Linked DNA regions of Homo sapiens: region 1 is linked to region 2. Evidence: promoter capture Hi-C in 16 types of primary human blood cells and fetal thymus (Javierre and others, 2016). All regions are on one chromosome and are shown on one strand. The core of a region is centred on a gene start or on the middle of the fragment in contact, and the rest is flanking DNA. Distances in the headings are between cores, read along the strand shown. Region 1 overlaps THOC1 (THO complex subunit 1). Region 2 holds the start of COLEC12 (collectin subfamily member 12).

Evidence for each region. Contacts are between HindIII fragments. The CHiCAGO score rates a contact against its expected background, and 5 or more counts as called.
Region 1: a contact is called between a fragment that was not itself captured here and the fragment with the promoter of COLEC12 in region 2, in 2 of 17 cell types (M2 macrophages and monocytes). The highest score is 9.0, in M2 macrophages.

The regions. Positions count from the first base shown.
Region 1 is chr18:236,759-243,361 of GRCh38, forward strand. All of the region lies in intron 11 of THOC1 (THO complex subunit 1), which reads right to left. Among named protein-coding and RNA genes, the nearest start is that of THOC1, 28 kb to the right of the region's middle. The HindIII fragment of the contact is 1,836 bases long and covers 4,315-6,150 here.
Region 2 is chr18:497,674-504,706 of GRCh38, forward strand. It overlaps COLEC12 (collectin subfamily member 12), which reads right to left and starts at 3,028. Exons shown (of 10, transcript NM_130386.3): 1 at 2,835-3,028. The coding sequence starts at 2,841. The HindIII fragment of the contact is 13,067 bases long and covers 1-7,033 here.

The DNA.
Region 1 (6,603 bases), core at 3,983-6,482, 260 kb before region 2:
GAGCATCTGTGTAAATGTGATTTTATGTTTTGCTCTTGAGCCCCAGTGAGGTACAGTACACAAAAGGATCGCTTCTATTAACCTTGAGTTAGTTCAGAATGTTTTCACTCCTTCAAAGTGCTCTTGTATGACCTCTAGTTGGCCTAATAATTTAATAATTTTCCTGTGACTGTTAGGCTTTTTTTTTTCTTTTATGTGAAAACCCATATGAATTGTGTGTCAGGGAGTAGGCAAGAGGGTAGTCTTTCTGTAGCATGACTGCAGGAGTTGCATATTTCTCAAAAAAGTATTAAGTCTCTGAAAAGAACACAGCTCTACAGTTTCTACTGTATATAAGTCTGATCAGACTGTGTGGCTTGAGAGATTTCTAGAAAAGTACTAAATCTCTCATGTACTGGATTTTTTTTTTTTTTTTTTTTGAGACAGAGTCTTGCTCTGTTACCCAGGCTGGAGTGCAGTGGCACAATCGTGGCTTACTACAACCTCTGCCTCCCGGGTTCAAGCAATTCTGCCTCAGCCTCCTGAGCAGCTGGGACTACAGGTGCGCACTACCACACCCAGCTAAATTTTGTATTTTTAGTAGAGATGGGGTTTCACTATGTTGGCCAGGCTGATCTCAAACTCCTGGCCTCAAGTGATCCACCCACCTTGACCTCTCAAAGTGCTGGGATTACGAGCGTGAGCCACCACACTGGGCTTCACATACTGGATTTCCTTTTTAAATTGTTGAAAGGCACCACTAAGTGCTTACATAATCCTGGACGAGCTGTTAAAATCTGCCCAGACAATTAAGAAATCAAGCCTAAACACCAAATGTTTTGAATATACCCATTTTCTCCCCAGATTAGGAAAAAAAAAATACAGGTTCCACAGTTAGTATGTTTACAAATATTTCGCTTTAAACGTTAAACAATTTAAACTTTTAATTTTCACAAATGTGTTAGATATTAAATTAGGGTCTAGAGGACTAAACTGTACAATAGTTTTCTACCTGGAATAGTACCTTCCATATAACTTACTCAATTGAAATAGAAAACATTTGGTTTCTGAGAAAAAGAATGTGTAAACAATTGTATAAAAACAACTAAATTATAAATTTAAATAGTATTCCTTTTTTTTTCTTTTTGAGATGGAGTCTCACTCTGTTGCCCAGGCTAGAGTGCAGCGGTGCAATCTTGGCTCACCGCAACCTCTGCCTCCCAGGTTCAATGGATCCCCATGCCTCCGCCTCTAGGGCAGCTGGGATTACAGGCACGCACCACCACGCCTGGATAATTTTTGTATTTTGTGGAGATGGGGTTTCACCATGTTGGCCAGGCTGGTTCTCAAACTCCTGACCTCAAGTGATTTGCCCACCTTGGCCTCCCAAGGTGCTGGGATTACAGGTGTGAGCCACTGCACCCAGCTCTACTTTCTAATAATTCTTTTCAAACTGTCTTTCAAAAAAAAGTTCTTAAAAAAATGAAAAATCTAATTTTAGCTTAAAGGTCTCTCAGTGTCCCTGCTGAGTTATAAGATAAAAGGAGATGCCCACTGAAGGCAGGAGCTATCAAGTCTCAATCCTTTTATTTAGTAAAAAGGTAACCTGAAGATACAGTCTCAAATTAAAAAGTTTTAAGCAACTTTCTGTACTAATAATGTGTTGCTTACCTACAGGGATACATTCTAAGAAAGGTGTCATTAGGCAATTTCCCCATTGTGTGAATATCATAGAGTGTACTTAACAATAGTATTGCCTACTACACAACTAGGCTATATGGTACAGCCTATGGCTCCTGGGCTACGAACCTGTAGAGCATGTTACTGCACTGAATACTGTAAGCAACTGTAACACAATGGTTAAGGATTTGTGTATCTAAACATAGAAAAGGCAAAGTAAAAACACAGTATTATATAATCTATAATCTTACAGAACCACTGTTGTACATGGGGTCCACTGTTGACCAGTTATGTGGTTGTTATGTGGTGCCATTATGGGGTGCATGACTGTACTGTGAAGTAGACTTAGAAGGCTACAGTATTCCTCAATAAAATAAATATCAAAAATTTAAATTTCATTTTCCTTAATACTCATAGTCAATGTAAAACAAACTCTTTAATGTTTTACATTAGTACTGTTTGAAAGTTTTCAGTTTAAAAGATGACTTTATGACTTTTCTTTGATTAAACCACAAGGTAGAAAAAAGATACAAATATAGAATTTTAATAAACATAAGACTTTTCTACCTTTAAAAGGCTAAAATGAAACTTTCTAATTAACATTGGTTATTTTGTTGTTACCTCTATTATTAACTCAGGATTATTTACACATAAACATGGGTGAACAACTAAATCAAGCTGTGATTAAACAGCCAGTGTTTATATATTGGTTTTCATAAATCTCAGACAATACTGAAAATTATATGAATTTACAGAATATTCTTACGCTATCCGGTAAAGTTTTAATATTCTATAGGATTACAGAGTATTGAAAAAATTTCTACAAAAAGTTAAAATTCAGACACAGAAAACATAAAAAGTCCCTAACATACGATACTTTTATTTATTTTATTTATTTATTTTTTGAGACAGAGTCTCGCTCTGTTGCCCAGGATGGAGTGCAGTGGTGTGATCTCAGCTCACTGCAACCTCTGCCTCCTAGGTTTACGCAATTCTCCTACCTCAGCCTCCCGAGTAGCTGGGATCATAGGCACCTGCCACCACGCCCGGCTAATTTTTTGTATTTTTAGTACAGACAGAGTTTCGCTGTGTTGGCCAGGCTGGTCTCAAACACCTGACCTCAAGTGATCTGTCTGCCTCGGCCTCCCAGAGTGCTGGGACACAGGCGTGAGCCATTGTGCCTGGCCTGATTCATATGTTTTTAAACCTATGTATCTCTGACTATACCTTAACATGTTTGTTCTTCATAACACTCAGGATGAAATAAATCAGTTAATGTTTACATATTAAACATGATAGAATTGTTTTAAAAACCAAAGTTTTAAATAATACTGTTATTAAACACTGATCTATTAAAACATGCATATCAAAGTATACTGAAAACTAATAAACACTTGTATATAATAGAGGAGGGAGCCCAATTAACACAGAGAAAAAATTTTTTTTTCCTCTGGGTATGAAGTCCATTTATAACCAGGTAATAATTTTTTGCCCTCTACAGAGTCTGTCCAGGAGTCCAAAATTATTGTCCTCATCAGAGAACATTTTCTTTTCAAAGGTCTATTAACATTTAAAATATGACTTTGTTATGCTTTTGTGTAATCATGACTATACACTGTTGTAAAAATAATGAGAGTTCTCATTTCTAGAGGATCTAAAATTTGTAATGGTCTTTCTGTTATAGTCAGTATTAATTTCTATTACTTTGGCTAATAAGAAGGTTGGGTGACTTCTTATTCTATCTCTGCTCTTTATCTTATCAAATAACTAGTCTCCTCTGCTAAGCCTTTCAGACTTTGCCTCTCTTCAAGATTAGGCTCCAAATTCAGAGCCTACTTTGGCAGTACATCTTCTGCACCCTGTCTTTGGTCTTTCCTAGAGGGCTGCTACTTGGTAGCATCAATCACTTTACTTTCTTATCTTGCTTGTATAACCATGGCTTGACTCACACACAGAGGTTATTCTAAAAATAACAATGGCAGAGTATGCTCTAAGTTTTGTAATATGCTCAATGATATTTAAAGAACTGTTCTATCTGTCAGGACCAGAGTTCAAAAATGTCAAAACAGAGGGTAGTTCATGCTTTCCGCCCTGAAGACCATTACAAGTCAATTTTACAATCATATGAAAAGGTTTTGGCTATAGTATTTACCTTTACAGGACGAGTGAAAGCACACCCATATGCTAAGACTGACATGACTGTCAGCAAAAGACTTCTAAAGCAGGGATCCCCAACCTTTTTGGCACCAGGGACTGGTTTCATGGAAGACAATTTTTCCACAGACCAGGGGTTATGGGGTAGAGGGAATGGTTTTGGGATGATTCAAGTGCATTACATTTATTGTGTACTTCATTTCTATTATTAATATATTGTAATATATAATGAAATACATATACAACTCACCATAATGTAGAATCAGTGGAAGCCCTGAGCTTGTTTACCTGCAACTAGAAGGTCCCATCTGGGGTTGGTGGGAGACAGTGACAGATCATCAGGCATTAGATTCTCATAAGGAGCACACAACCTAGATCCCTCATGATCAGTTTACAATAGGGTTCATGTTCCTATGAGAATCTAATGCTGCTGCTGATCTGATAGGAGACGGAGCTCAGGTGGTAATATGAGTGATGGAGAGCAGCTGTAAATACAGATGAAGCTTCGCTTGCTTGCCCACTGCTCACCTCCTGCTGTGCAACCCTGTTCCAGAGCTATCTAAAAGCCTCCCATGCCGAGAACAACTAATGAGATAAAAAAAAAAATTGTAGCATAGTGGTTAGCCTGCCCACTTGTTAACAGGAGGGTCTTGCTTCTGCCTTCATTTGCTCCTAGCTAGGCTATAGTATATCTTATAAGAGACCCACCTTAGCCGTTACTACATAAAGATTCAACCTCTCAAATGGACATAAAAAGTACAAAACATTTAAGGCAGAATGACTATATGGATAGTTTCTTACTGCCAGGAACTTTTTTTTAAAAAATGACCAAAAGTCCTAACTAGAGGCCTCTTCACACAATGCAGAGACCAAGCAAAATTGTGAATTTTCTTTTCTCCATGAAAATGAATGGCCTAATGACCACACTAGGGTCAACAGTACATAACTGTGGGTAACCTCACCCTGGTAACTGCTAGCCACTGAGTATTCCATCTGATCATTTTGGTCATTGAGTCTCAGATGGAAAGTGAGAAGTGTATTATTCTGAAGGACTGGGTAACCCTAAAGCCTATATCTAATTAGTGTTATTATACTCTTTTCTGTGAGAACTTAAAAGATCCAAAAATATATTCCTTTAACCATCATGGTAATACTCATGGTACTTAAACATTTTGAAATGTTGTTCTGCTTTTACATGCTACATAGTACAGAGGGAGGAATCCCTACAATACCAGTGCCTTTTATTTGGTATAAGTTGAACAATTAGAGGTAAAATCCTCCCTTAACATTTCTGAGTATGATCCTGGACTAACCTTAAAGAACAGATACTTTTCCACTGCATTAGAAAATAAGCAACCCAGGTGTATCAGCACTACATTTAGCAAGTAGTAACCCTGGATTATTTTGCTCTGCTAAAAAGGGAACTATACTGTTGGGCACTAGTATTCAGAATCACACTCCAGGTAGTACAAAAATGTGGCACTTTGTTTCTAGGGGAAACTTCTTTCTTTAAGAAGGAAGACACAATAATTTACAAAGACACCCATTTTATTTGTAGAACCTCTACCTACCTGTAGTTGCCACATGACTGGCCTATCTCCAACTATAAAGTTTATATCATCTGGCTGGGCGTGGTGGCTCACGCCTGTAATCCCTGCACTTTGGAAGGCTGAGGCAGGCAGATCACCTGAGGCTGCGAGTTCGAGACCAGCCTGGCCAACATGGCAAAAAACCTGTCTCTATTAAAAATACAAAAATTGGCCAGGCGTGGTGTTGGGCGCCTGTAATCCCAGCTACTTGGGAGGCTGAGGCACGAGAATCGCTTGAACCCAGGAGGTGGAAGTTACAGTGGGCCAAAAAAAAAGTGTCTCAAAAAAAAAAAAAAAGTTTGTATCATCCTTGCCAAGCATTGTTTCCGGACTATCCCTAAGGAAAAGTCTGACCAGATTCATGTAACAAAACACAATGCTTCTGGATAATATTCCCATTGGATGGGGTCACGGCTCTATTACAGAGATGAAAGATCTAACCTTGTAATGACAAGCACTTTTCTAAACCTGCTCACCAGTGAAATGATAGGCTAAAGAGTTATGCTCCAAATAATCATAGCTTTAGATTTCACTTTAGCTAGCTCTTACTGGCAAGGAATATGGCACCCATATCCCTGAAAAATCCAGACCTTTCTCATGACTTACCAAATCTATATCAAAAGTTGAAAGTAACATCAGGCCCAAAACTGGCATATATTTAGGTGTGAAGGCCTTTTTGGGAATCCTAGTATCAAAACACCATGTAAGGTACAGAGATGCTGGAAGGCTTCTTTCAGTGCAGCAGTAAAGCTTATAAAATGTTGCATATTTTCCATGATACACGTAATGCATTACAAATATTTTCACTTGTATATTAAGTAGTAAAAACTAAAAATACACCAAAAAATATGAAGAATGTACAAAGAGGACTGTAAATTTAAGACAAAGTTGTTGCTTAAGGGGCAACAAAGGGAAATGAAGATGCAAAACATTACATGCCTCACATTCTCTTTGGTACAATTTTGTGCCTTTTTCTTACTCCTATGGTAAGTTTTAAGCTTCTCAAAGCTGTTTTTACCTTCCTCGTGATGTGATATTAATTAATGAAATTTCAGTGCTTAATCCTGAAAGTTCATGTTCTAACTGCTGGTGAAAGCAAGTTCACAAAGAATCAGAAAAGGAGAGATACTATTAGAAAGCCAAGTGTGACAAAGTGAATGGAGAATGATATAAAAGCATCAATCCCATATTCCAATGTGGA
Region 2 (7,033 bases), core at 1,778-4,277:
ACAGGCATGAGCCACTGCACCTGGCCAAGAATGTTTTAGATTAACACGTTTATTCTAAGAATTTACAAGGCTTGTCGTTGCTTTCTATCATGTTGGCTTTCTGAAGCACGGGGAGTTAACAACTATTTGATGTAATCAGGAACCCGGGGAAAATCTTTAGTTGGTTCCCTATGGCAAATGGTCAAAACAATTCCACTTGGTAAAAGCAGCTTTCCGTTTTTGTCTAGGCTTCCAAAGCCTCACATGCAACTGGTTGGCTCCACCTCTTCCTGGATACAGCACCAATTGTGGGTTACTTGGCTAGTTAGTTGTCTCAGATTCACTTTTTTTTCCAGTCATCTTCACCAGAGGTTATCTATTTGGTGTCTTAGGGCCTTCCAAGCCACACGGGGTAACTGACAAGGCTTGTCTTTAGATGCCTACTCTATCCTCCTAGTTGCCAGTTCCTATTTCTTCTAGACTCAGTTTTCATACCTATACTGTTAGGATTGAAATGTCTACTCTCAGGGCTGTTGAGAGGATTAATTGCAATGTGTTTGTAGTGTATATAGTACAGTGGCTGGCACTTAGTAGGTACTAAAAAATTATTACTGCCCCTCCCGTCCCCACCCCACCACTCAGACAAATGTAATAAATACAGATTACGTGGTAATAATTGGTAGGCAAAACTCTCATGGAATATTTTTTTTCTTTTTTTTTTTTTTAGACGGAGTCTCGCTCTTGTCACCCAGGCTGGAGTGCAATGGCTCGATCTCGGCTCACTGCAACCTCCATCTCCTGGGTTCAAGTGATTCTCCTGCCTCAGCCTCTCAAGTAGCTGGGATTACAGGTGCCTGCCACCACGCCCAGCTAATTTTTTGTATTTTTAGTAAAGACAGGATTTCACAATGTTGGCCAGGCTGGTCTCGAACTCCTGACTTCGAGTGATCTTGCCCACCTCGGCCTCCCAAAGTGCTGGGATTACAGGTGTGAGCCACCGCGCCCCGCTGGAATATTTTCGTTTTTAAAAGAGGGCTTCAAAATGATTAGTCTACCCGGGGATTCACCAGTCCGTCCCTCCATCAACCTCCCCGACTGGGGCGGAAAGTGTATGGGGCTTCTGGGCAGCGCTAGACCACAGCGGGTAGGCCACCATCTGGTCCAGAATGCAGCATAAATCTCTCCAAAAATGTGTTTAGGACTTCTGGGTATGTTTTCCAGTGCAAATGTAAAGTGGAAAAGTGTCTCAAGTGCAATAGCGGTCCTTTACCCAGTAAAAAGCATAACAAAAGTTTCAGGGTTTAAGAACCCACGTGGGAGCTGATGGAGTGGGTAGGTGGTTAATCTTCCCAAGTTTTAAAAACCACTGGTCTTAATGACCAGCAGAGAAGATTCACTTCTGGCTAAAATGATAACTGAGCCCCAGATAACTTTTAGCCATGTGAAATTCTTTCCTTTCTAGGGAGTCTCCTCAATCAGAGCCAGCTAAGGAATGTGTGTATTTCCTAGAATGTAAATGAGGGAAGAGAAACTGAGATGGAGACAGAAGGAAAGCAAGCCACTGCATTTTGAAATTCTCTAGGTAGGCAGTTGTATCGTGTCTTTTGTTTCTTTTTCCCTGGGGCAGACCACTTTTCACCTGGCCATCAGTCACCTCCCTTCCCGAGGTCTCCCGACGTGGACACCTAACGCCCTTGGAAAGGGAGTGAATTGGTAGGATATCATCGCTCCGGTTAGTTCCGCGGGAGCTGCCCTTCAGAAAAAAAACTTTCCAGAGCCAAAAGTTACTTTCCAAGCGCCTTGGGGCTTCCCGGGCGCCTCCCTCGGACGGCAACCCTAGAAGTCAAAGCGATTGCATCGCCAGGTCTGTGGCGGCTGGAAGCGGGGTGACCGCGGTCAGATGGCATTTCGCACCCACGCAGGGCTGTGTTATCCTAGCACAGAACCAGCAACTCTCACACGAAGCCTTGTGTAAACACCACGCGGGCCCATTCCTGAACGACTCTTTGATGCCTCCGCTGCGGTTACTTATCTCATACATAAATCAGGATTCCGCTGACAAATCTCCGTGTTTCCACTAAACAGAAGGCTGCCCTGCAGTCCTTCTCGTGCTTCTTTCTAAAGTACGATAACATCTGACACTTCCATAAACCGGCCTGCAGAGGACACCGCGCAGGGGGCGACTAACCAGCTGAGGTGTGTCACCCCAAAACACCAGTGGGCACACCCCAAGGCGGGCACGTGGAAGGGACGCGGAACCGAGGGCAACTATTTTCCAGTCGGTGAATCTGATGGAGAAAGATGCCAAATGCACTTCCCGAGCCAGCTGAACTCCTCGGGCACCTAATCATTGCCAGATGTGGCGAGGGCGCACGGAGAACATCCCCAGTCCCGGAGAAAACACCCGGCCGCCAGCGCGGGGACCGCTCGGGCCGGGAAACGGCTAGAGGCGGGAGGAGAGAGGACTGGGCGAGCGTGGGGAGCGCTGCGGCGTGGAAAAGCGACCGGGAGGGATGGCGATGCCTCCACTCTCCTCGGCAGGTTTTTTCAATTAAAAAGTTGGAAACGGGAATCCGTAAACAACGACTTAGGGCTTCAAACTACTTGCAAAGACGCGATGGGGAGGGGAATACTTGCGCGCTTCAAAACCCCAACCTCGAGGTCTCCAGCCGCGCCTGACCCGGGAGCCGGGTGCGCCCCCAGTGTCCGCGCACGAACCCGGCGCCCTGGCAGCCCCGACTCCCCGGGCCCGCAGCCCAAGGGAAGGTTCGCGCGGGAGGCACCTCCGTGGCCTCCCGCGCGCCCCGAAGCCCGTTCCCCCCGCCCAGAGCCCCGCGGAGCTGCCGCCGCCCTACCTTTCATGGTGACCGTGGGGACGCACCGCCGGCCGGGGAGCTCCGCGCGAGCGCCGCGCAGCCGAGGAAGTCGTCCCGAGCGGCTGCTCACCGCACGCCCATGGTAGCCGCGCCGCGCGCCGGCCGTCTGCGCCCCCGTCCTCCCTCGCCGCCGCCGGCCCGCGCTCCCCGCGCTCCCGGCTCCGCGCTCTGCTGCCTCGGGGCTGCCGCGCGCGCCGCTCTCGCTCTCCCAGCGCCCCTCCCCCTGGCCCGACCCGGCCGAGCGAGCGGCCGCGCCCACGCCCCTCTCGCGCCCTCCCGCGCCCGCCCCGCCCTCGGCCCGCGCCTGCCCTCGCCGGGCACTTTCTCGCCCGCCCTCTCCTGCGCGCCCTGGCCCCACTCGCGCGGGCTCTCTCTTTTTCCCGTTGCACCAGCGTCGGGATGAAGTCGGGAGCAAAGCCCTTCCCGGGGCGGTCCAGCGTTCACCTTCGGCGAGCACCTAAGGTGCCGCTGCTGCTGGGGTCGCTTCTACACCCCAAACTACCTAGCAAGTGTTGGGCGAGAGGATGGGGAGCTGCTGTGCCCCGGGGGTGGCGGGGGGTAAGGTGGGCCCTTCCCCAAACGGCTCTGGGGCATGGAGAGGTACAGAACGTCCTCCGGGTTCAGAGTTTCCAAGTGCGTGCGCTGGTTGACGCCTGAAGGAGACCAAGCAGCAGGGAACACTCTCTCTGTCACCCAGGGAGAGCCCGAGTGGCCAGAATCCGAAGTCACCATTAGACACTCTCTCTGCGCTCTTGGACACCTCCAGAGAAAAAGCCAGCACATCCTGCCTTGGCTGGAAAAGCCAGCCTTCCACCCAGCGCCCCTAAAATGATCGGGTTGACTCCAGTTTTGTTACGAAAGGAGGCCGGGCTGCTGAGAGGCTCCCTGAGTTCCCTTCGTGGTCGCCCGTCACATTGCCCTGCTGTATACTTAATAAAGCCCGTGTTTATCTTTCTCTTTAGAACCCCCTCTAAGCAGACCCATCGCTTTATTGCTTTAAAACATACACTAAGTGGTGAGTGGAGCTGGGGCGAGGGAGGTGCGGAGAAACTTTCTGCCACATGTTGACATTACAGATGGCTACTCAGACGCACTAGTCCACCAAAAGCAATCGAACACTGGCCGGGCAGTGCTTGCAGCTTTTCAGTTTGCCCTCCTGAGGACTTGGTAACACGGTGTAACCAATCCATTGGTTCCCTCTAAGTAGGGGATTCTTTGCTCTAGTAAAAGGTAGTGCCCCAAAATGAATACATATTGAAACATTTCATAGATTCTCCGTTCCAGGAGATTTCTTTTTTCTTTCTTTTTTTTTTTTTTTAATTTTTTAACATAAGGGGGCACCTTGAACATGACGAACAAATGAAAAGACCGAAATGCTTTTTCCCCCGCACTGTCTGCAGTTGATGAAACTACAGGGTCCTGGTCCTGGAGCATGTTTCAGATCTCACTGGGGCACCAGCCTTGTCTTTCAGGGCAAATGGGGATCCCTGAAGGGAGCTTAGGATATGAATTTTCAGCCCGGAGTTTACTAACCAATGGCGTGACCTCGGCTCACTGCAACCTCCACCTCCCGGGTTCAAGCGATTCTCCTGCCTCGGCCTCCCGAGTAGCTGGGATTACATGCGTGTGCCACCAGGCCCAGCTAATTTTTTTGTGTTTTTAGTAGAGACGGGGTTTCACTATGTTGGCCAGGCTGGTCTCGAACTCCTGACCTCGTGATCCGCCCACCTCTGCCTCCCAAAGTGTTGGGGTTACAGGCGTGAGCCACCGCGCCCGGCTTTCTTTTTTTTCTTTCTTTCTTTTTTTTTTTTTTTTTTTTTGAGACGGAATCTCACTCTGTCGCCCAGGCACAATCTTGGCTCACTACAACCTCTGCCTCCTGAATTCAAGCAATTCTCCCACCTCAGCCTCCCAAGTAGCTGGGACTACAGGGGTGGGCCACCAAGCCCAGCTAATTTTTGTATTTTTAGTAGAGACGGGGTTTCACCATGGTGGCCAGGCTGCTCGCAAACCGTACCTCAAGCGATCCGCAGGCATCAGCCTCACAAAGAGCTGGGATTACAGGCGTGAGCCACCACGCCCTGCCGAAAAAAAAAAATCGTTTTTAAAACCCAAATTATGAATATGACACCAAAAGTACAGGCAGCAAAAGAAAAAATATAGATAAATTGTACTTCATCAGACTTTTGTGCCTCAAAGGCCAGTATAAACAGAGTGGAAAGCCAACCCACAGAATAGGAGAAAATATGTGCAAAAGCCCTATATCTGATACAGGATTAATATCCAGGATATATAAAGGATTCCTGCACCTCAGCAACAACAACAAAACAGGCAACCCAATTTGAAAATGAACCAAGGACTGACATGGACATTTCTCCACAGAAGACATATAATGGCCAATAAGTACATGAAGGATATTCAATCACTAATTGTCAGGGAAATTTGAATCAACCGCAATGAGCTACTACTTCATACCCAGTAAGATGGCTATTTAAAAAAAAAAACAAAACAAAATAAGTGTTGGCGAGGATGCGGAGAAATTAGAACTTTTGTGCATTGCTGGTGGGAATGTAAAATGGTACAGCCACTATGGAAAACAGTATGGTGATTTCTCCAAAAATTAAACACACAATTACCATATAGTCCAGGAATTCTATTTCTGGGACCCAAAAGAGGTGAAAGCAGGGTAACAAATAGATGTACATCCAGGCTCATAGCAACATTACTCACAATAGCCAAAAGGTGGAACAACCTAGTGTTCACTGTTGAATGAATGGATAAACAAAATATGGTATAGCCATACAGTGGAATATGATTCAGTCTTTAAAAGGGAGGAAATTCTAACACATGCTACAACACGGATAAAACTTGAGGCATTATGCTTTGTGAAATAAGCCAGTCACAAAAGGACCAATATGATTCTACTTATAAAAGAGAGTAAAATGCCGCCAGACGTGGTGGCTCACGCCTGTAATCCCAGCAGTTTGGGAGGCCAAGGCAGGTCAATCACGAGGTCGGGAGTTTGAGACCAGCCTCGCCAACATACTGAAACCCCTGTCTCTACTAAATATACGAAAATTAGCCAGGCATGGTGGCTGGCACCTGTAGTCCCACCTACTTGGGAGGCTGAGGTGGAAGAATCGCTTGAACCCGGAGGCAGAGGTTGCAGTGAGCCGAGATCGCGCCACTGCACTCCAGCCTGGGCGACAGAGTGAGACTCCATCTCAAAAAAAAAAAAAAAAAAAGAGAGAGAGAGAGAGAGTAAAATGCATAGGGATAGAAAGTAGAATGGTGGTTGCCGGGGGGGGGATGGGGAGTTGTTTCACAGGCACAAAGATTCCATTTGGCAGGATGAAAAGAATTCTGGAGATGGATGGTGGTGATGGTTGCACAACAATGTGAATATACTTAAAGCCACTGAACTATACACTGAAAAATAGCTAAGATGATAAATATATATATTTGACTACAATAAAAAAATTCAAACAGAAGAATGATAAGGTAAAAAACAAACAAGAAACCCCTAAGGCTATGATGTCAGCTGTGATAATGAGCCAGATTCATAGATCTACTGATGAGAAAACAGGCTTAGCAACTTTTCTAAGGATAATTTTAAGGAACAGTCCTGGGACCAGGTGCGGTGGCTCATCCCGGGGCTTTGGGAAGCCAGGGAAGGAAGGTCACTTGAGGCCATGAATTCAAGACCAGCCTGGGCAACATAGTGAGACAAAAAATTTAAAAATCAGCTGGGTGTGGTGGCATGCATCTGTAGTCCCAGCTACTCATCAGGCTGAGGCAGGAGGATTGCTTAGGCCCAAGAGTTTGAGGCTGCAGTGAGCTAGGATCATGCCACTGTACTCCAGCCTGGGCAACAGAGTGAAACCCATCTCTAAAAAAAGAAGGAATCCTGGATGAGTGCCTTCCTCCCCCCACCCTGTCACCTTCAGCACAGAGTGAGTTGGGCCCCACAGGTCCTCAGTGTGGAGCCTCCTCTGAGCCCCACTCTGGAGGATATGAAGACGGAAGGTCATGGTCACATGCAGATCATCAGCTGATCAGGATTTCTCTGGTCAAGAGCTCTGGGAGGAATTGAGAATTGAGCTGGGGATCAGGGAGAAAAGAAGGGAAAAGGAAAGAAGAGAAGAATGTGATTGGAAAGGACTGAGCCATGGAGCTGA